Linked DNA regions of Homo sapiens: regions 2, 3, 4, 5 and 6 are each linked to region 1. The links are contacts of gene promoters, found by promoter capture Hi-C in blood cells and fetal thymus (Javierre and others, 2016). All regions are on one chromosome and are shown on one strand. The core of a region is centred on a gene start or on the middle of the fragment in contact, and the rest is flanking DNA. Distances in the headings are between cores, read along the strand shown. Region 1 holds the start of SUPT3H (SPT3 homolog, SAGA and STAGA complex component). Region 2 has its middle 240 kb from the start of MIR4642. Region 3 overlaps CLIC5 (chloride intracellular channel 5). Region 4 has its middle 29 kb from the start of MIR4642. Region 5 has its middle 180 kb from the start of MIR4642. Region 6 overlaps SUPT3H (SPT3 homolog, SAGA and STAGA complex component).

Region 1 (3,269 bases), core at 17-2,516:
TCCATTCTTGCAAAGTACTCTCACGAACTGTTTCTCATAGGCAAATTCAGCCTCTTTGAAACATTCACCAGAAATTCCCCAAGTTTTGTCCTTCAAGTAAATCTTTGCAGGGCGAATTTAATTCCTCTTCCAGAGTCTGCCCTTCACATATACTAAGACCCCAGGTCCTCTCCTTCCAAATACATACATACATATATACACATACATATACTTATATACACACATATGTATATACATATATATACACACACATTTCTTTCTACCGAAATAACTTAACATTTCTATTAGCCTCTTGGAGAAATGCTAATTTATCCACGTGTACAGTAATACTACGTCCAGGATCGTCTGAGTGTCAAATATTACATATCACTGTCTTCATAACTTCACTCTCACGTGTGAGACCAAGTGTCCTGATTCTCTGAGAAAATAAGGTCACAGTCATTCTGAACTCCTAAAACGTGGAGAGCAAAAGCAGAGCTAATATGTACTGAGCAGCACCTGGCGCTGTTCTAAGCGTTTAACGTGTATTTTCTCATATAATCCTCACAATTCTGAAATAGGCTATAAGATCGCCATTTTACAGACCAAAACAAGGCAAAGACAAGCTAAATAATTTCCCCAGGGGTCACAGACGTGAGCTCACCCCACAGAGAACACAGCGGATCTTTTCCTCTTTCTGGATGCTACACTCCCACTAACTACCTAACTCTTCTCTCGCCGTGCCATAAAGCAACAATTTCCCTCTTTAATGATTCCTCCGGCAGCCCCCACACTACCTAGACGACCCGCGCACCCCGCTTCTCAGCACAGCCCAGCCCCCCTCACCCCACGCCCACCCGCCAAAAGGGAGGAGTCGAGAGGCAACTCCACGCTCGGCAGCGGAACCAGGGCGCTGCGCCCGGCCAGCGCCTCCCACAGCCGCCCTCCCTTCAACACTCCGGCGTAGACCACGAAGACCCAGGCAGCCGCCCTCGAGCCGGGGCCAGGGCGTGGCCGGCGCGGGGGCCCAGCGACGCTGGGATCTCCGCTCTGCGTCCCTCCCGGCTCTCTGACGTCTCCCCCGCCCGAATCCCCGCACCGCCCCCCGCAAGCCCTACAACCTCTGCTTTAAGAACCCTTGGAGGCACTGCTGCGCTTCCCGCGAGGAGAATGTGGGGGTGGAGATGGTGCGGTTTCTGCTGCTGCGGCCCGGGACACGCTTGGAAAGGGGCGGGGTGGGGGACTGAGAGTGTGGAGTGTAGAAAGGGAAAAGGTGACTCGGCTGTGTGACGGGGCGATGGGGGGGGTACAAGATGGCGTGAGCCCGACTCTCGGTGGGGCGGGGGTTGCGGAGACTGAGGAGTAAGCGATACGGACGCCCCCCGCACTGGCAGTGCGGGCGCATGCGCGCTTGGCCAGGTGGCGCGCGCTCTCCCAGCCCGAGCGAGCTACTTCCGCCACGCTCGCCGGGGGCGGGGCGTTGTGCGCGGCCTTCAGGGCCCGGCTTGGGCAGCGCTGAGCCACGCGGCGGCGTTTAGAGCTGGGGACGCTGGGAGCGGAGTGGGGACGAGCTGAGATCGGTCAGGGTGTACAGGGTGCAGGCTTGAATTCTTTAGGAATTGGGCCCGAGAGGGCTAGGATTTTTGAAGGATTGGGTGACCGGCACTGGAAGTTGATTTTCAACTCCGAGGAAGAGATTCACCGTTCTAAGCTTCTTTCCAGGAATTGGAGTGAACGGGATCTTAATGGGATTGCGCGTTTACAATGGTGAAGGGAAACGGAGGGGTCTGAACGCTCCCCGCAGGGCCGCAGTACAGGCGTGTGGATGTGGAACCCTTTCTGGGACGGCGAAACCAGCTCTTACGCCGCTTCCGCGCGCCATCACTCCCTACCCTGACCTCGCACAGAATCTGTTTCATTAATCTGCTATTAATGTTTTTTCCCCAACTCATGTTACTAGACGCAGGCGTTTAACTACCATGTTTTGTTATTGAAAACTTTTTCTACTTGAAGGCTTTTTTTTTTTTTTGGACGATTCTGTGTTTAGATTTTGGCCTGTTCCTCATTTTAAAATCTTGCACCCCCAGTATTGTACTGTACATTCTGTCCTGCCACATTTAATTGATATAGATGTAGTTCTTTAAATAATACAGTAGTCGTAAGACAATGCTTTCAGTCTTTCACTCTTTATATTATATGAAGTCTTATTTATATTTAACATTCTTATTGCCTGCTTAGAGAAGAAAACTGGTTATCCATGCTCACCTTCACACCTGTGTTGTCAAATACTATAAAATACTGTATTTTATAGGGATTCAAGTATTAACCCTCACCAAGTCTTTTTAAGCATCACTGCTTCAGTTATTTTCTTGCCTATAGATACTGTGAGTTCTGAAATCCCTTCCTTCTATTTGCTTAAATTGTTTAAAATAGCAACTTATTTGGTTATTTCCTCTGTGGATTGTAGTTGAGTCTGCTAGTGTTGTGTTTGATTCTCTTTAATCTCCCCAACGCTTCAATATTTGCCAAATACCTAAAATTCCAAAAGAATAGATATATTTAGGATGTGAGAGCTCAGCTTGATGTGTAAATCAGGGATCAATTCATTGCTGAGCAAAGTGTGCAGTATAAGGGAAAGTAACAGAGTGAGTATGGTGATAACTTCTTACATGGGAAGACTGGTTGAAAGCTCTTTTGAGTACATTACCAAGAAATTAGTTAACAGAAGATTAAGAGAAAAATTAATGTTCACATCTAAAGAAACATAAAAGTAGATCATTTCAATTAAAATTATGTTCAGTTAATGTTATCATAGAAGTTCCTGCACTGGAGTTTCACCTGCATCAGATGAGTACCTGTTTGATCCAGTTTATCAGGATAGAATCCAGATCATCTTATTCTAGGATACTGGTGTCCAGCCTGCATAAAATCACACACAGGCCAGGCGCGGTGGCTCACGCCTGTAATCCCAGCACTTTGGGAGGCCGAGACGGGCAGATCACAAGGTCAGGAGATCGAAACCATCCTGGCCAACATGATGAAACCCCGTCTCTACTAAAAATACAAAAAAGTATCCGGGCGTGGTGGCACGTGCCTGTAGTCCCAGCTACTCGGGAGGCTGAGGCAGGAGAATCGCTTGAACCTGGGAGGCGGAGGTTGCAGGGAGCCGAGATCACGCCGCTGCTCTCCAGCCTGGCAACAGAACTAGACTCCGTCAAAAAAAGAAAAAAAAAAATCACGCACAACAAAAGTTAATGAGAGTGACACATGGAGAAGGGAAACTGAGTTAA
Region 2 (3,239 bases), core at 48-2,547, 700 kb before region 1:
CATTCTACTCTTCACGTCCACAAGATCAACTTTTTAAAAAGCTCCCACACATGAGTGAGAACATGCGATGTTTGTCTTTCCATATCTGGCTCATTTCGCTTACCATAATGACCTCCAGTTTCACCCATGTATGCTCAGCAAATGACAGGATCTCATTCTTTTTTATGGCCAAATAGTATTTAATTGGCTATGATGATTACTTGGACTCTGCAGATGAGGATATTGAGACAGAGAATGTGGTTAACAGCTTTGCCCAGTGCCACGCAGGTAGCAAGTAGCAGAGCCAGGATCCACACCGAGGCACCTGGCTCCAGGGCTGTGCCCTAACTGCTGCGCCACACTGCTTCTCCTGGGAGTGCCCCCTGGAGAGAAGCATGAATGCACTGGGAGAGAGTGTGTCCATGCATCCATGTTGCCCTCCTGGCAGGGTGCCAGGATTAGCATATCAGTAAAAGACAGTAGATACGGGGTTTCTGGACAAGACCAGAGAACTATACTGTGTGGTTGGGACAGTGACTGGTTGAATGACTGTCTTCAAGGGGAAGCAGTGACTGGGTTGGTGTTACCCTGGAGGGGCACGTCCTTGAGGAGGGCCACAGGGCATGGAGTTTGCCACCTAGAACATTGGAACCAAACATTCCAACAAAGATGCCCTCAGCCTTGGCCCACTGAGCATGTTCGTCAGTGACTCGGATACTCAGGGGTGAGGCTGTGCCTACTGAGTCTGCAGAGGCAGGAGGGAGAGCCGGTGCAGGCCATATAGACCTCTGTCTCCCAAGCTGGTGGTCTCCCTGGAGGAGGAGAGAAGACGATTACAAGCTTCAATGAGATGACTTCTGGCAAACAAAAGCAGTCACCGCTTAGCAGAAGGAGGCATTTATTGGCAGGTAGGACCTGGCTGGACGCAGTGGGGATGCTGGTTTTGTGGTCTCCTGTCCCAGTCCTAGACACTCTGGAGCCTGGGCTTTAAATCCCATAAGGCCGCTGGCTGAGTCAGCCTCAAAGAGCTGCTTAGCCTGTAGGCTGCTTCCTGTGACTGGATCCCTCAGAAGTAATATCAGAAATGAGATTTGTGAGCAGAGGCTGAGCTGGGAGAAGAGTCGGCTCTGTTGGCTTGGTTTGCACTGTCACCTCCAACCCATGTGAATGCCTGTGAGTCTCCTGTTAAATCCCCTCCAAAGCCTCAGCTAAAAGACATCCATGTCACTGCTACTTACGTATTAGCAGGAATTAGTTTCTTGGTTCCCAGGCCAAGGACTAAGAAGCACCCAAGAGAGGCTAAGGAACCGCCCAAGACAGACTGGCACCCAGGGGCCTCTGCAAAGCCAGATGGGAGGATGGATTATCTCCCATTGCTGTGGAACCACGAACTCTGTGGCTTAAAACAACACCCACTTATTATATCACAGTTCTGTAGGGCGGAAGTCTGGTACAGCATGGCTCAGCTTAGGGTCTCACGGTCCAAAATCAAGGTATCCACTAGCCTGGGCCCTGATCCAGAGGCTGTGGAAGAGAATTCAGGATCTAGCCCCTTTCTGATGTCATCCAAGAGCCTCTCTCTGCTCTGTAAAGCCACTCTCGCCACTGCTCCCTCCATCTTCAAACAGCAAAAGTGGGTCAAGTTCTTCTCACACTTCCAATCTCTCTGACTTCCCTCAGCCATATCTCTTCTGCCTTTCTCCCCTGCCTCATCTCTCTGACTCCAGCCAGAGAAAGTTTTCTGCTTTTAAGCCCCTCTGTGATTAGAATGGGCCATGTTTTCATGTAACTTGTGGCAAGCTTTTATTAAAAAAAATTTTCTTGTAGCATGTGTTGACCTACAGCTGGAATTCCATGTATGGGCTTAAAAAAAAAGATCTCAAAAGACAAAGGATAGAGAAGAGGTGGTAACTGGTGACAGCATCATTCCCTACCCTATGCACACACATGCACATGTGCACACGCATACATGCACACACACACAGACCCGCACATACGCACATGCTGGGTGCCTGCATTGCACTATTCCTGGAATATAACACACACTAAGTAGATGTCATGAGTAACATCACAAGCCACCGCAGCCTAGGGGTATCACAGCCCCCACATAACAGTGACAAAATAGTATCTCTTCACTCGTGCATCAACTGTGTGCACCACTGCCAGGAGTGCTAGGCCCTGTCTCTGTCCCTGCCTCACAGTTTAGCTGTAGAGAAGGATGAGTTACCCCTAGAACATAGTGTCAGGAGGGGCATGATAGGAGTCAAAAGAAAGTGTACAAGCCCTAGTCCGAAGAGCTGAGGGAACATCCCAGTTTCCGCTCCATGAACACTTTTCCCTGCCTTCATTCTCCTGGAGTGAAGGTATCCACCAGCTTGGACCCTTATCTGGAGGCATGATCTCCCTGCCCCCATGACTCCACTTCCAAAAGGGATGGATGACACGTCACCCCTGCAAGAAACCCAGGGCTGGCATGGCAGAGCTGCTCAGGGTCATGCCTGCCTGTCAGCTGACTGTCCCTGCTCCAGGGTGTGTGTCTCAGTGTGTCTGTGTGTGATCTATTCTAGAGTCATGCACACACACATACACACTCATGCACGCACGTGTGCACACACACTCCAGGGCTTAGTGCCAAGATCCCTTATCCCCTCTCTGTCTCCTCCTCTGTCCATCCCTCACTGGGCCACGGAGGGCCTTGGTGGTCCAGGCACACCTGTTTGGCACCCACATGACTCCACTGCTTCAGAGAGAAGGGGTGAGACAGAAGCCTCCTGTGAGCTGGGGGAGCTGCCCCGCCCGGCCTCCCCCTTGCTTCTCCTCTTGTCTCTCTATCTTATCCAGAGGTGGAGGCTCCATCTAACTCCAGCCCCTGCCTGTCCAGAGTGGCCCCATGATGCAACCCAGGCGTCATGAGGGAGGTTCCCAATTGTGACACAGGCGTTTGATTCCACTTAATGGGATGTATCAGTTAGGAACAGTTCTGGCTGTGTATAACAGGATACCCAAATTTTAATAATTTTATCATAAATACGTGAAATTATCTCACAAAACAGGAAGCCCAGATAGCTGGTCCCAGGACGTAGTGGTTCAGAGATGTCCGCAGATCCAGGCTTTCCCCAGCATCTTCCTCTGCCGTCCTCATCCTGACAACACGGAGTGCCCCTTTGTCACAAGATGGCAGCCACAGCTTCAAACATTACACCTTCACACAACAGCATTCCAGGCAGATAGGAGTGATGCAGGGGCTTTGTTTTCACATG
Region 3 (3,114 bases), core at 119-2,618, 550 kb after region 1:
ATGTGATGTTTGGGGGTGGAGCAACCATCCTGTGAAACAAGAATGAAAGTCACACACGAAAGATGGAGAATTAGGAGCTCTAAGCAGCAGCTCAATTCTCGACTTCTTTCAGCAACTACATTTGCCTGGAACTCTCTACTCTCTGGACTTCTTGTCATGTGAGAAAAGCAAATTCCTCTTAAGAAGTAAACATTTATCAAGAGTGCTTAGAACAGGGCATGGTTCATAGTAAAATGCTATATAGGTTTTGCTAATAAAATACATGTTTGCTTTAGCCACTGTAGTCAGGCTTCTATTACAAACAGCCAAACACAACATTTGCCAATATACATAGGTATTGCCAACATGCCAACATGTCATTATTCCGCTTTTTTTTTTTTTTTTTGAGATAGAGTCTCGCTCTGTCACCCAGGCTGGAATGCAATGGTGCGATCTCAGCTCACTGCAAACTCCATCTCCCTGGCTCAAGCAATTCTTCTGCCTCAGCCTCCCAAGTAGCTGGGACTACAGGCGCGTGCCACCACGCCTGGCTAATTTTTGTATTTTTAGTAGAGACTGGGTTTCACCATATTGGCCAGGCTGGTCTTGAACTCCTGACCTCGTGATCCGCCTGCCCTGGCCTCCCAAAGTGCTGAGATTACAGGCATGAGCCGTCGCGCTCAGCCTCATTATTTCACTTTTATTCTAGCACCTTGCACAGCGTATGGTACTGAATAAGTATTTGTTGAAAGAATAAGCCGTTCAGTGGGGTTTGAGGAAAGATGAAGGACCCTAAAATCATGTGACTCTATTTATATACTTATGTAATAAGCTTTAACTCTGTAGAGGAACAACAGTTCCCTTTCTTTGTATAATAGTAGCCCTTGGTCTTTTGAGGATAGATGAAGGGATTCAATTAGTTTGGCCTGAGATACCCTCCCACAGAGTCCCAGCCACTTTGTTATCAGAGCCAAGAGAGAAGCATAGGTTAGCATCAACCTCTCTGCCAAACGACTCAGGTAGGACTGAGGCAGTTTCAGACCTGGGCAAAATGTTGAGTAAAACTCATCTTAGGGTCCCCACAATGGAAACAGAACATGGATAACTATCATTGCAAACATCAGTGGGCATGAGACCATCAGAGTTAGAGCTGAGTGCAGGAGGTCTGAGAAATCACGTGGCTCAACCCTCCCCTCCCCAGAATGTTCTGGAAGGGAAGAGGTTCTAGACACTAGCACAGAGAAACATATATACACACACACACATACACACACACACACACATATATACATACATATACATATATATATATATATTTTATTTTTTTTATTTTTTTTGAAATGGAGTCTCGCTCTGTCACCCAGGCTGGAGTGCAGTGGTGTGATCTCGGCTCACTGCAAGCTCCACCTCCTGGGTTCATGGCATTCTCCTGCCTCAGCCTCCCGAGTAGCTGGGACTACAGGCACCCGCCACCACACCCGGCTAAATTTTTTTTTTTTTTGTATTTTTAGTAGAGATGGGGTTTCACCATATTGGCCAGGCTGGTCTTGAACTCCTGACCTTGTGATCCGCCCCCCTCGGCTTCCCAAAGTGCTGGGATTATAGGCATGAGCCACCGCGCCCGGCCAGAGAAACGTATTTTATTTACCTTGATCCAGATCATTAAATGCTTTGTCCACCAGGGGTCTTAGAAAAATAATTTGACCTCTGGCTGCTAGCTGAAAAAAGTCTAGAATTTAGCCTTCTGTGTTTTCTCTTTTGACTCTTGGTGAAGTATCACTTTTAACACCAAATAGAATTTCCCTTGAATGTGGTTATAAAAATAATGGTGAAAAGAAAAATCCCACTTCAGCGAAGCCCGCCAGCACACTGGCCATCCTAGTGAGGAGAGCTGCTCAGGTTCTTGCATTCTTTTATTGATTGGTTCTAAGTGAGATTATTCACCATGAAGCTTGATATCATATAACAGAGGCTACAAAAGCATTGTATGTTCTCACGTCAAAGACAATGCTAGTCACAGAACATCATAGGATTTAAATGGGGACTGGGAAGTTTTAAATAAATACAGTCAGAGCATAGGGGAGTCTGCAACATGGGGACAGATTTAAAAGGTGAGGTTCCACAGCGGGGACAGGAAGTGGCTGGAGGACGTGCCCGTGGCTCTGATGAGGCCCCGTCATCATCTCCCAAGCAAAGGCATAGACAAGGTAGAGGTGTGTTGAAGTGTTTGTATACTTTTTTTTCTCTCATTTAACAAATATTGATGGACCATCTGCCCTGGGTCAGATGCTGAGCTGGGGTCTGGGGTGACAATGATGAAGGAGGCACACCCAGCATGCTTCCTCACAGAGACAGCTGCTCAGAACCCTGTTTCTCACAGCACAGCCCTGGACCAACAGTGTCCGAATCGCCTGGGAGCTCTCAGGCCTTGCCCCAGATCCACTACCTCAATATCTGCTTCGTAACAAGACCCTGTGGGAAACCAGGATATGCCACCCCCAAAATAGGAAGGATTGTTGAGATGAAGACAATTCAGAAGAAACAGAGGCAGTAAAGCTCTCTGCCCTCCCTCTATTTGTCTAAAAGCAGGACGTAGATTTACAAAGACAAAACGTATCTTGCCTCCCCCCTTCTACCAGGGAGAACCACTGAAAACAACTTAAGACGCTTATGCTCCTGGAGATGGCCCTGCAGGAATCTACATTGAACAAGCTTTGCTAACTGGCCTTTATCTGCCATTCATTTGCTATCCCCCGAAGTTGCTGCCCCTAGAGACTCAAAGTGTTTTTTCCCTTGTCACATCTCTAAAAGTTTACTGTCCTTTGATGAGGATGCTGTGAAACTAGAATTCAAAGCCATCTCTTTGAGAACTCCTCATTATAGAAAATATACATGTTAATAAACTTCTGCTTGTTTTTCTCTTGTTAATCTGTCTTTTGTTACAGGGGTCCCTTCCAACTAAGAACCTATGGGGGTTATTCTTCCTCTAAAACCCCCACGGGATTCAAATGTATTCGCAAGGTAGAAAATGGTCTGGCTAACAAGAGGAATGAAAAGAAGTGCTGCTTTATGCTTAAGCCTTAAGTCTGTGCCTGTCTTAACTCATGAGGCTACTCCGGCTCAGCCTGGAAACAA
Region 4 (3,150 bases), core at 392-2,891, 910 kb before region 1:
ACCAAAACTTGGTACTTGGGGAGGAAGAGAGGACTTGAGCGCCTGGAGACTCATCATTCCATGAGGTCTCGTCTCAGACGTCCTTGGCATTGGTTTATGTCTCATATCTGGTTCACAGTTGTGCTTGGTGAACCAGAAGCGTAACCCAAATAAGTCACTCTGTGGTATTTAAAAAAATTAACAGGAAGAGCCTGTGTGGGGTGATGAGTGTGGATGCACATTTCAATTTTAGTTTTCACCATTTAGCACACATGTCCAGGAAAACATGCTTCTGTCACCAAACAGTCAGCTGGGCGAGGTCCCTTTCCACCTAGTTGACCTGGGTGCAGTGAGGGTGGCACTTGTCATCCTCTGGTGTGGTCAGTGGAGTGGAAAGAGCTTTGAGTTCCTGCAGGCTCTACCATGAAGGAGCTGTGTGACCTTGGACAGGTTACTTCCCTTCTCCAAGCTTTAGCTCTTCACCTGTAAAGGGGGGCCCTCCTTTACTGGGTCTCGAGAAGGTGAAATGGAAAGTATCTAGGCCCATTCCTGGCACGCAGCAGGCCTTCAGTCGGTGGTAGGCATTACTGTCATTTAAAACATTCATACACGGGAAACAGAAGCAAACCACTGTTACTGCGGGGTTTTCTGTTACAGCTGAACTAAATTCCAATGAACACACTTACTTTACAGATAAATTCCACACTTTGGAAAGGAATCCAAAGTTACAAGCCCCACATTTCCTATACATGGCCTAGTCTCCAAATGTGTTTCATATTTTAGCAAAATCACCAGCACTCTCTCAGTGGACATTCTCTGCAGTCTTTAACAGTCAGTCTTCAAAGCCCATATTAAGAAGGTGGTGTGTCTAAGTCCTGGCCAGTGGAACAGAACAGGAATGATGAGTGCAAGAGACGTGTTCTTAAGATGGGAGAGGCTGTACCCTCCTTATTCTCTTCTGCCAGCTAGAGGCAGACACTAGAGGCTCGCAGCCCTGTGGCCACTGTACCTGCCACAAGGAGACACTGGGAAGGGTGGCCAGGCATGAGGGAGGACAAGACAGCAGGGGCCCAGGTCCACATACACCAGGGAGTGCCACGCCAGCCCGGATTGACCATCTCTGGACTTTCTGAATGTGCAAAGATATCCCTAAAGAGCATAATTATTTTCCCCAATGCAGAACTTAACATTGCTGGTGGTGGAACCAGGCCTTCAGGAGCGCCTGATGCGGTTGGGCCAACTGTGAATAACGGAGAGAAACAGGAAGAGGGAACACTCCGGCCAATATTACTTTTCATGTAAAGTAAATCTTTTCATTAAATAATGGTAAAAGTCAAGAGAAAGACTTAATTACTACCTTTGTGTTTATAAAACTTTGTTTTATAAAACTTGATGTAACTATGGTCAAGATAGGACAATATTTAAAGAAATAAAAGCACCAAGGTACAAGGTCAGCACAAAAAGTTGTGCTGATTAAGGGAATAGTGTCATCCCCAAGGGCGGTATCTGGCGGTGTGCCCCAGACTCTGCCCTTGACCCAGGACTGCTTAACATTCCAAGCATTCACTTGCAGGAAAGCCTAAAAAGCACACTTATTACATTCCGGGATGATTTGAAGCTGGTCAGGAGAGCTCATGATTTGAAAAATATTGCAGGATGCAAAAAGTATTTTGACCAAACAGAATGATGAGCTGAATGTAACAGTATGAAATGAGATAACGATGAATAGAAGAATCTGACAGATTTGGGGCCTAGATACCAATGGCCTCTGTATAAGACTAGAAGGGGAATTGTGTTCAGTTATGAACTTTGGGGGAAACAGAATCATCAGGGCGAAGAGATGGGAGTCGTGGTTGGGCGGAGAGCTGGTGGGGCGTGGGAAAGTGATGTAAGAGCCCCGTGTTAGGTGCCTCGGGCTGCCGTAACACAGTGCTGCACACTGCGGGCTGAAACAACAGACTTTACTGTCTCTCCGTTTTGGAGGCTAGAAGTCCAAGGTCAAGGTGTCATCAGGGTTGGCTCTTCTGGGGGCTGTGGGGGAGAACCTGTTCCTTGCCTCTCTCCTGGCTTCTGACAGTTTGCTGGCAATCTTTGGCATTCATTGTACTGTAGCTCCATCACCCCAGTCTCTGTTTTCATCTTCACATGGCATTCTTCCTGTGTGCTTGCCTCTGTCCATGCTTCCCTCTTTTGTAAGGACACCAGGTGTATTGGATTAGGGCCCACCCTAATGACCTCATTTTAGCTTGCTCATCTGCAAAGACCCTATTCCAGTTAAGGTCACATTCACAGGTATTGGGGTTAGGACTCTAACATCTTTTTTGGAGAAGACACAGTTCAACCTGTAGCAAGCCCTTCCCCAATTTGAAGGGCTGTAACATGCAAGAGGCTTAATTTTCTTTCATGTGACCCCAAGGAAGAGAAGCAGGGCCATGGAAGCAGATTCCAGTCCAGCAAGAAGACCTCAAAGTATTAATTCATTGTTTGCTGTGTAGCTCCAGGCTTCTTTCCTCTCTCAGTTGTGCCCAACAGCAATTTTTTCCCCTCCTGCCCCCATATAAGCAAAAACAAAGATTCAAATAAACCACTGACCATATATTTAATAATTTATCATCTAAACTGGGACACTTCTGAGAGTGGTAACAGTGCAGGTGGTGAAAGCAGTCCAGCGGGACATACATTCACTAAAGACTATATAAATGGGTAAGAATTGGTCTGCTTTTCATTATCACCATGCAGCAGTAATCAGCAATTCTGAACTATATCAGTGATAACCTACCCCCTCCTTAAAAAAAAATCTTTAATTGGTTTAACTCTTAAACAATTGCTGTGGTTACTATTGTGTTAATATACATGTAAGCTTAAAATTGGCTTGTTTTAATTTCTTACTTTTTTTTTTTTTTGAGAGGGACTCTAGCTTTGTCGCCCAGGCTGGACTGCAGTGGCACAATCTCAGCTCACTGCAACCTCCACCTCCCAGGTTCAAGCGATTCTCCTGCCTCAGCCTCCCAAGTAGCTGGGATTACAGGCACCCGCCACCATGCCTGGATAATTTTTGTAGTTTTAGTAGAGACGGGGTTTCATCATGTTGGCCAGGCTGGTCTCGAACTCCTGACCTCAGGTGATCTGCCCACCTCAGCCTCCCAAAGTGCTGGGATTACAAGCGTGAAC
Region 5 (3,273 bases), core at 284-2,783, 760 kb before region 1:
CCACAGTAGCACCTCCATATAGTCATTTTGTCTGCAGGTTCCTCAAGGACAAGTCACCTCACCAGGATGACTTGTCTGAGAATTAGAAAATCAGAGGTCACTGAACCCTTAGGAGAGGATGTCCTCAGTTACCGGATTTCACTGTTCACTGCTAAAGATTGAATCAATTTGTGGGTAAATTATGACAGCTGTGAGTGAAGACAATGTATGGAAGTTGTTACCTCTGGTGCCTTCTATTTCTGGATCTGTATTGACCCAGTCTGTGGCTCCATCCTGCAGGTATGGGCTTGTTACTTTGCACTTGTACATGATTTAGTCCCTGGGCTAAGTCCCAAGTGTGAGGCCAGGGCAGGTTGTGGTACAGGCCCCACAGGCAGCTCTCATGAATGCAGCCCAGTTCCTGGCACACAGCAAGGGCTCAGTAACTCCAGCTCAGGGGCTTAAGCTTCTTAATGTGAGTGAAAACAGAACGGAAAACGCACCTGAAGCACAACAGGCCCTGTCTTTCACCCACAGTGGGGTAAGGACTTGCTCCTTGAGGACTCAGAGGCATTAACGATAATGAAGGGTTCCAACCCAGCTGAGTTCTCTGGTTTTTGGTTCCTCTGTTTAGAAATGCCATGTTTGTGGCTTCAAATAAATCAAGAGATTTGAACCCAAAAGATGGGCAATTTGGCAGGGTTTCAAACCCACTTAAAACTACAGCTCCAAATTTAGATGTGATCTGGGAACTTGAGTTTCAAGTTCCCCTTGACTTGGGCAAAGCCTGAATTTCAATCTACTGCACATTTTAATTTATCCGTTCTCATCTTTTTAACTTCCCCAAATTTCGCTCTCCCTTTTTGGAACTCATCACTCTGGTTGTGTTTCTCACGTGGCTGTTGCTGTGACTTCTCTTGCGTTGTTTTCTGTTATCATCACACAGACCTTATACTCTGCCTTTCAGTCTTATCTCCTGGGCTGGGCTGGAGACACCTTCTGGGCAGGGGCTGTCCTCAGGCCTCTTTCCTTTCCCCTCCGTGAGACTTGCCCAGGGTCCAATACTCATGGGTCACAGTTAAGGACTGAGGGTTGCTCCGTTGTAAAGCTAGGAACTGGAGGAGGTTATGTTCCAACCAGATTTCCAGAGCCTTGGCTTCTGATTTGGTTAAGTATTCCTTGGAAATAAACAAATAAGCAATGCAAACATCTGAAGAGCAGTGGTTTGAGTTAAGGAGTGTACAAAATTTAAGAAAAGTCTGATGAAGACAAAGCCATGTGCTGGGCAAAATCGAATCAATCCATAATAGCTTTCTGTCACTCCTGCCATGCCAATACTGCCTGAATTGTTTGTCTACAGCTTGTGGGAGGCTAAAAGAGTCAAAGGTTAGAATTTGGCACATGAGATAGAACTAGAGTTCAGATCACATGCACCTTTTCACACCTTCACACTTTTGGAGAAACAGTGTATTTGTTTGGTTGGGCTGCCATAGCAAGGTACCACAAACTGGGTCGCTTCAACAACAGAAGTTTATTCTCTCACAGTTCTGGAGGCCAGATGGCCAAGATCAAGTTGTGGGCAGGGTTGGCTCCTTCTGAGGGCTGTGAGGGAAGCCTGTTCCTCGCTTCTGGTGGCTTGCTACGACCTTTGGTGTCCCTTCGCTTGCGGACCTCTGCCTTCGTCTTCACATGGTCATCTCCCTGTGTGTGTCTGTGTGTCTGTCTGTGTCTAAATTTCCTCTTTTATAAGGACATTGATCATATTGGATTACGGGATCATCATACTCTGTAGTATGGCCTCATCTTAACTGATCACATGTGCGATGACCCTATTTCCAAGTAAGATCATATTCTGGTGGTACTAGGGGTTAGGATTTCAACATTAATTTAGTGGTGGTGGGTGAGCATATTTAACACAGTGCAACAGCCTTCTTATTTGAATTTATTGTTCTCCAAATCAGGGTTTATCCATAGAATTCAGTCTGTGCCATACCTATGGATTGGATAATAAACATCTAGAAGAAGCTAAAGGCAGGAGTCCCTTTTCTCCTTTTCTACCCAGTGATCCATCCATCCATCCATCCGTTATCACACACGTGCACACACACACACACACTTTATATAGGTGAGACTCTAGGGGTTCCTTACTGGAAGCCCCTGTCATCCAGGGACACTACTTGATGTCTTACTTGCATGGATTTGATGAGCTGCCTCAGAGGAAGAGCTATAAGGACTCTGAAGTAAGGCCTGGGTTCAGAATCCAGCCCTGCACTTACTGGCTCTGTGACATCAGTGACACCTTCCTCTTTGAGGCTTGGTTCTTCATTTGCAATATAGCAAATACTAGAGCAGACCCTATAGGTCCCTGAAAAATGGTGGCATTTATTGACGTTATTATTGTTGAGTGAGCCAAGGAGAGAGGGACAGAGTGGAGGCATGGCCTATCTTCCAGCTTCCAGAAGCTCACCACCAGGCACTCCTGGGGGCGCAAGTCCAAAGCTGTCACAGAGACTGCCTCATCTGGACTGTCTCCCCAGTTCCAGAGCTGTGGTTCTTAATCTTTTGGGGAACTGGATCCCTCTGGAAATCTAATACAATCTGTGGACTCCTCCCCAAATAGCACCTGTGCATGGAGTGTCCTCAGAAGCTTGCGTGTGATTGTGGCAGGTTTGCGTCTCCACTTGAGACCACCCACGGAGGCTAAAGTTTCCACTTCAGAGACAACAACCTGAGAAATTCATTTGCTCATCCAGTAAACATTTCTTGTGTGACTGTCACATGCCGGGTGCTTTGTGGGGGACCAGGATGTCACGGAAAAGTCAGATAGGAGACCTTTCCCCAAACTGCTCACAGGCAGCAAAAACCATAATGAAAAGTAGAAATGATTCAATATTATAGCAGACATATGGCTATATTTTTTTTGTCCCAGTTCAGAGGAGGACATTATTTCTACCATGGAGGGTGTGAAATAATCAGGCAGGTTCAGTGGAAGGAAGGATATTTGAGTTGGAAAATAACAGGTGAGTTAAATTTTGTTCTTAAAGGACATATTGGTATTCCCAAGGTACCCATCCCGACAGTTGACACAAGTGCACGAATATCTGTCTGCTGGTGTTTGCCTTCACCTGAATGTAACTTAGCTGCTAGATTCCTAAAACGCTGCACCTCTGATAAGAAGCCAGTTCGTGTTCTTTTCTTCAAATATGGGCTTCCAATTGTATCACTTCTATAACACAAAGCACAGTTCATTCATTTACATGAAACAAGAAGACATTGACATTCTGCCTGTCTTCA
Region 6 (2,834 bases), core at 325-2,824, 520 kb before region 1:
TGCATTACTTTAACTTGATGTAACCTAAAAAATAGACTTGATATAAAGAGGTAAAAAGAGTCCATCTAACTCAACACAACTGACAGTCTGTTCTCAAGTTGCCTAGCCCTGAACCAGAATGTTTTATTTGTTTCACTCCAGAAGAGGGTGATACTGTGTCTCTTAGTGAAAGGTATTTGTGATGAAAATAACTTATAGACTAATCCAAAGCTATGTAAGGCAAATGCTCACAGAAGGAAACAGAACTTGTTTTTTAAGGTGGAAACATTTTTAGAGCTTGCTGGAGATTTTCATTTCAAAATCTCCAAATTCAACAATTCTTCAGCCTCTGTAAACTTTCAAATGGAAAGCTCCAATATTTAGAGTAAATAATGTCTAAGCTTCCCCTTCATAGCAAGTTTTCTTTTTCTCTCCTGTCATAAGAGTGTTATATCCTGGCAAGTGAAATACAGAACCCCTTTGTAGTAAAGCTATCATACTATACCACTCAGAATGTGGTGCTAATGAGGTTATTGCTTAATAGAACCATAGAAGGACATTGAAAAAAGAAAATACCCTGACAAATGTGTTGACCAAAGGATACCAACAACTCTCCTAGGGTCCTGTCCGAAATTCAAGGATTTAAAAAAGTAAAAATGAACTTTAGTGTATGTGAAAAATCATAACATTGAAACATAAGTCCATTTATCTTTTAACTATTTTTCTAGTTCTCTTCCAAAATTTTGCTGGTTATTAAAACACTGCTGTGTAAATAAAAATGTTCTGCTTTATAACTTAACCCCATTTCTTGTCCTTACAATATAATAATGTCATTGTTTGTTATATCACACTTATTCTCAAAGTAATAGGGCTTGATTTAAAGGACTTTAAATAGCACATTGAGGAAGGGCTTCTGCAGAAAAATGAGATTGGGGAATCAAACACAGAATGGGGAATTCAGAAATGGACTATGAAGGACTTCTATTATTCTGAGAGTCCTAAAAGAGTTTATATACCATGACTCCCACTGAGATAAGCACAGCTCTTCATAAACACTCTTAATAAACATCTGCTAAGTGGGCTGTCCCAAGGCTGAACTGTCCACTGATAAGGTCGTGGGGAATTTATTACTAGAATTTCAGTGAAGCCATTCAAATTCCCAGACTGTGAATATAGTTGCAAATAAATGAACTCATTTCATTAATACATATCCTCTGCCCTGATGAGTAAATGCCCACTTTTGCGTCTCTTCAGAGATATTCACAATCAACTGCTTCATGTACCCAGCTATCCTTAGTCATTCAGACCACCAAAAATGAGAGCTTGCAGCAGTCTATAACATCACCACTCTCACAGATAAAACACAACATACCCTATAATTAGAATCACAGACTGTAGGAGCTCGAATGGGCCTTAGAAGTAATTTAGTTCAACCTTCTCATTGTACAGTTGAGCTTGAGTGACTTTTCCAAATGTTATTCAACCAGTTAATGGCCGGACTGGGAGTAGAACCAGGTCTCCCGACTCTTATTCAACTGCTTTTGCCATTATAACAGGATTCAGCCATGACATACTATTTAAGCAAGGTCAGTAAACAGACACTACTAGGACTTAATGGCAAGTGATTTCATTAACAACAAGAGGCTGTAACAAAAAACTCCCTGTATCTAATTCCTAAAAAATTCAAGTTGAGGGATGGTAACTTGGTATTCTAGCCACTAACATAAAAAAGCAAAGAAACTATATGGACTAGAAACCAATTCTAAAAGAATCTTTTTAAAAAAAGTCTGCATTAATAAGATTAATAAGGATATACTCAATGTAGAACATTTATTCTACTTGGGTGATATATATTTTTTTAATCTCACCTATTGCACCTGCATAAGAGTGAGGAATTTCTGTATTAAACAGTAAAAGTTTTCTTTTGCCAATGATGTACATTATACTGCAGAAAAGAACTAGATTGAGAATCAAGAGTCCTGGGTTCTGCTATTAATTCACTGAGATACTCTAATTTTCTCATTTTCTCAGTCATAGCTTTCTTTTGTTTTGTTTTGTTTTTTTATTTTTTGGATACAGGGTGTCACTCTGTGATTCAGGCTGGAGTGTAGTAGCACGATCACAGCTCACTGCAGCCTCAACTTCCTGGTGATCCTCCTGCCTCAGCCTCCTGAGTAGCTAGGACTACAGGCAAGCACCACCACACCTGGCTAGTTGTTTTATTTTTGTAGAGATGGGGTCTTCCTATGTTGCCCAGGCTAATCTCAAACTCCTGGGCTCAAGTGATCCTCTCACCTCAGCTTCCCAAAGGGATTAAAGGCATGGGCCATGATGCTCAGCCACAGTTTTCTTTTCTTTTCTTTTTGTTTTTTTTTGAGAAGGAGTCTCACTCTGTCGCTCAGGATGGAGTACAGTGGCACAATCTTGTCTCACTACAACCTCCGCCTCCTGGATTCAAGCGATTCTCCCGCCTCAGCTTCCTGAGTAGCTAGGATTACAGGTGTCTGCCATCACGCCCAGCTAATTTTTGTATTTTTAGTAGAAACAGGGTTTCACCATGTTGGTCAGGCTGGTCTTCAACTCCCGACCTCAGGTGATTCACCTGCTTCAGCCTCCCAAAGTGCTGGGATTACAGATGTGAGCCACCACCATGCCTGGCCCCAGCCACAGTTTTCTAATATAAAAATTGAAAGGGTTGATTTTTAACAGTGTGCTAAGAAGGGCCCTGGAAGTTTCCCAGAGTTGTCCTAGGAGCTGACAAGAGGGGCTAGGGAAGAATAAGGAAGATACCAAGCTTGGAAGTTCTGTGTTTTCCACCCCAACCTCAACTGGGCAGTTCTGCTTTGATCTGATTT

The links. Contacts are between HindIII fragments. The CHiCAGO score rates a contact against its expected background, and 5 or more counts as called.
Region 2: a fragment that was not itself captured here is called in contact with the fragment with the promoter of SUPT3H in region 1 in 1 of 17 cell types (M0 macrophages); the score reaches 6.1 in M0 macrophages.
Region 3: a fragment that was not itself captured here is called in contact with the fragment with the promoter of SUPT3H in region 1 in 1 of 17 cell types (M2 macrophages); the score reaches 5.2 in M2 macrophages.
Region 4: a contact is called between a fragment that was not itself captured here and the fragment with the promoter of SUPT3H in region 1, in 1 of 17 cell types (M0 macrophages). The highest score is 5.1, in M0 macrophages.
Region 5: a contact is called between a fragment that was not itself captured here and the fragment with the promoter of SUPT3H in region 1, in 1 of 17 cell types (monocytes). The highest score is 5.6, in monocytes.
Region 6: a contact is called between a fragment that was not itself captured here and the fragment with the promoter of SUPT3H in region 1, in 1 of 17 cell types (total CD4 T cells). The highest score is 5.3, in total CD4 T cells.

Annotation. Positions count from the first base shown.
Region 1 is chr6:45,376,668-45,379,936 of GRCh38, forward strand. It overlaps SUPT3H (SPT3 homolog, SAGA and STAGA complex component), which reads right to left and starts at 1,267. Exons shown (of 11, transcript NM_003599.4): 1 at 1,101-1,267. The region is part of intron 2 of RUNX2 (RUNX family transcription factor 2); the gene reads left to right. RefSeq lists silencers at 909-1,188, 1,509-1,558 and an enhancer at 1,199-1,742. The HindIII fragment of the contact is 7,128 bases long and covers 1-1,688 here.
Region 2 is chr6:44,675,973-44,679,211 of GRCh38, forward strand. No RefSeq gene overlaps it. Among named protein-coding and RNA genes, the nearest start is that of MIR4642, 240 kb to the left of the region's middle. The HindIII fragment of the contact is 960 bases long and covers 818-1,777 here.
Region 3 is chr6:45,924,950-45,928,063 of GRCh38, forward strand. The region is part of intron 4 of CLIC5 (chloride intracellular channel 5); the gene reads right to left. Among named protein-coding and RNA genes, the nearest start is that of CLIC5, 89 kb to the right of the region's middle. RefSeq lists enhancers at 1,778-2,442, 2,443-3,106. The HindIII fragment of the contact is 1,119 bases long and covers 810-1,928 here.
Region 4 is chr6:44,463,238-44,466,387 of GRCh38, forward strand. No RefSeq gene overlaps it. Among named protein-coding and RNA genes, the nearest start is that of MIR4642, 29 kb to the left of the region's middle. The HindIII fragment of the contact is 2,391 bases long and covers 447-2,837 here.
Region 5 is chr6:44,617,796-44,621,068 of GRCh38, forward strand. No RefSeq gene overlaps it. Among named protein-coding and RNA genes, the nearest start is that of MIR4642, 180 kb to the left of the region's middle. RefSeq lists an enhancer at 3,012-3,273. The HindIII fragment of the contact is 2,181 bases long and covers 444-2,624 here.
Region 6 is chr6:44,859,051-44,861,884 of GRCh38, forward strand. The region is part of intron 10 of SUPT3H (SPT3 homolog, SAGA and STAGA complex component); the gene reads right to left. Among named protein-coding and RNA genes, the nearest start is that of MIR586, 340 kb to the right of the region's middle. The HindIII fragment of the contact is 2,393 bases long and covers 379-2,771 here.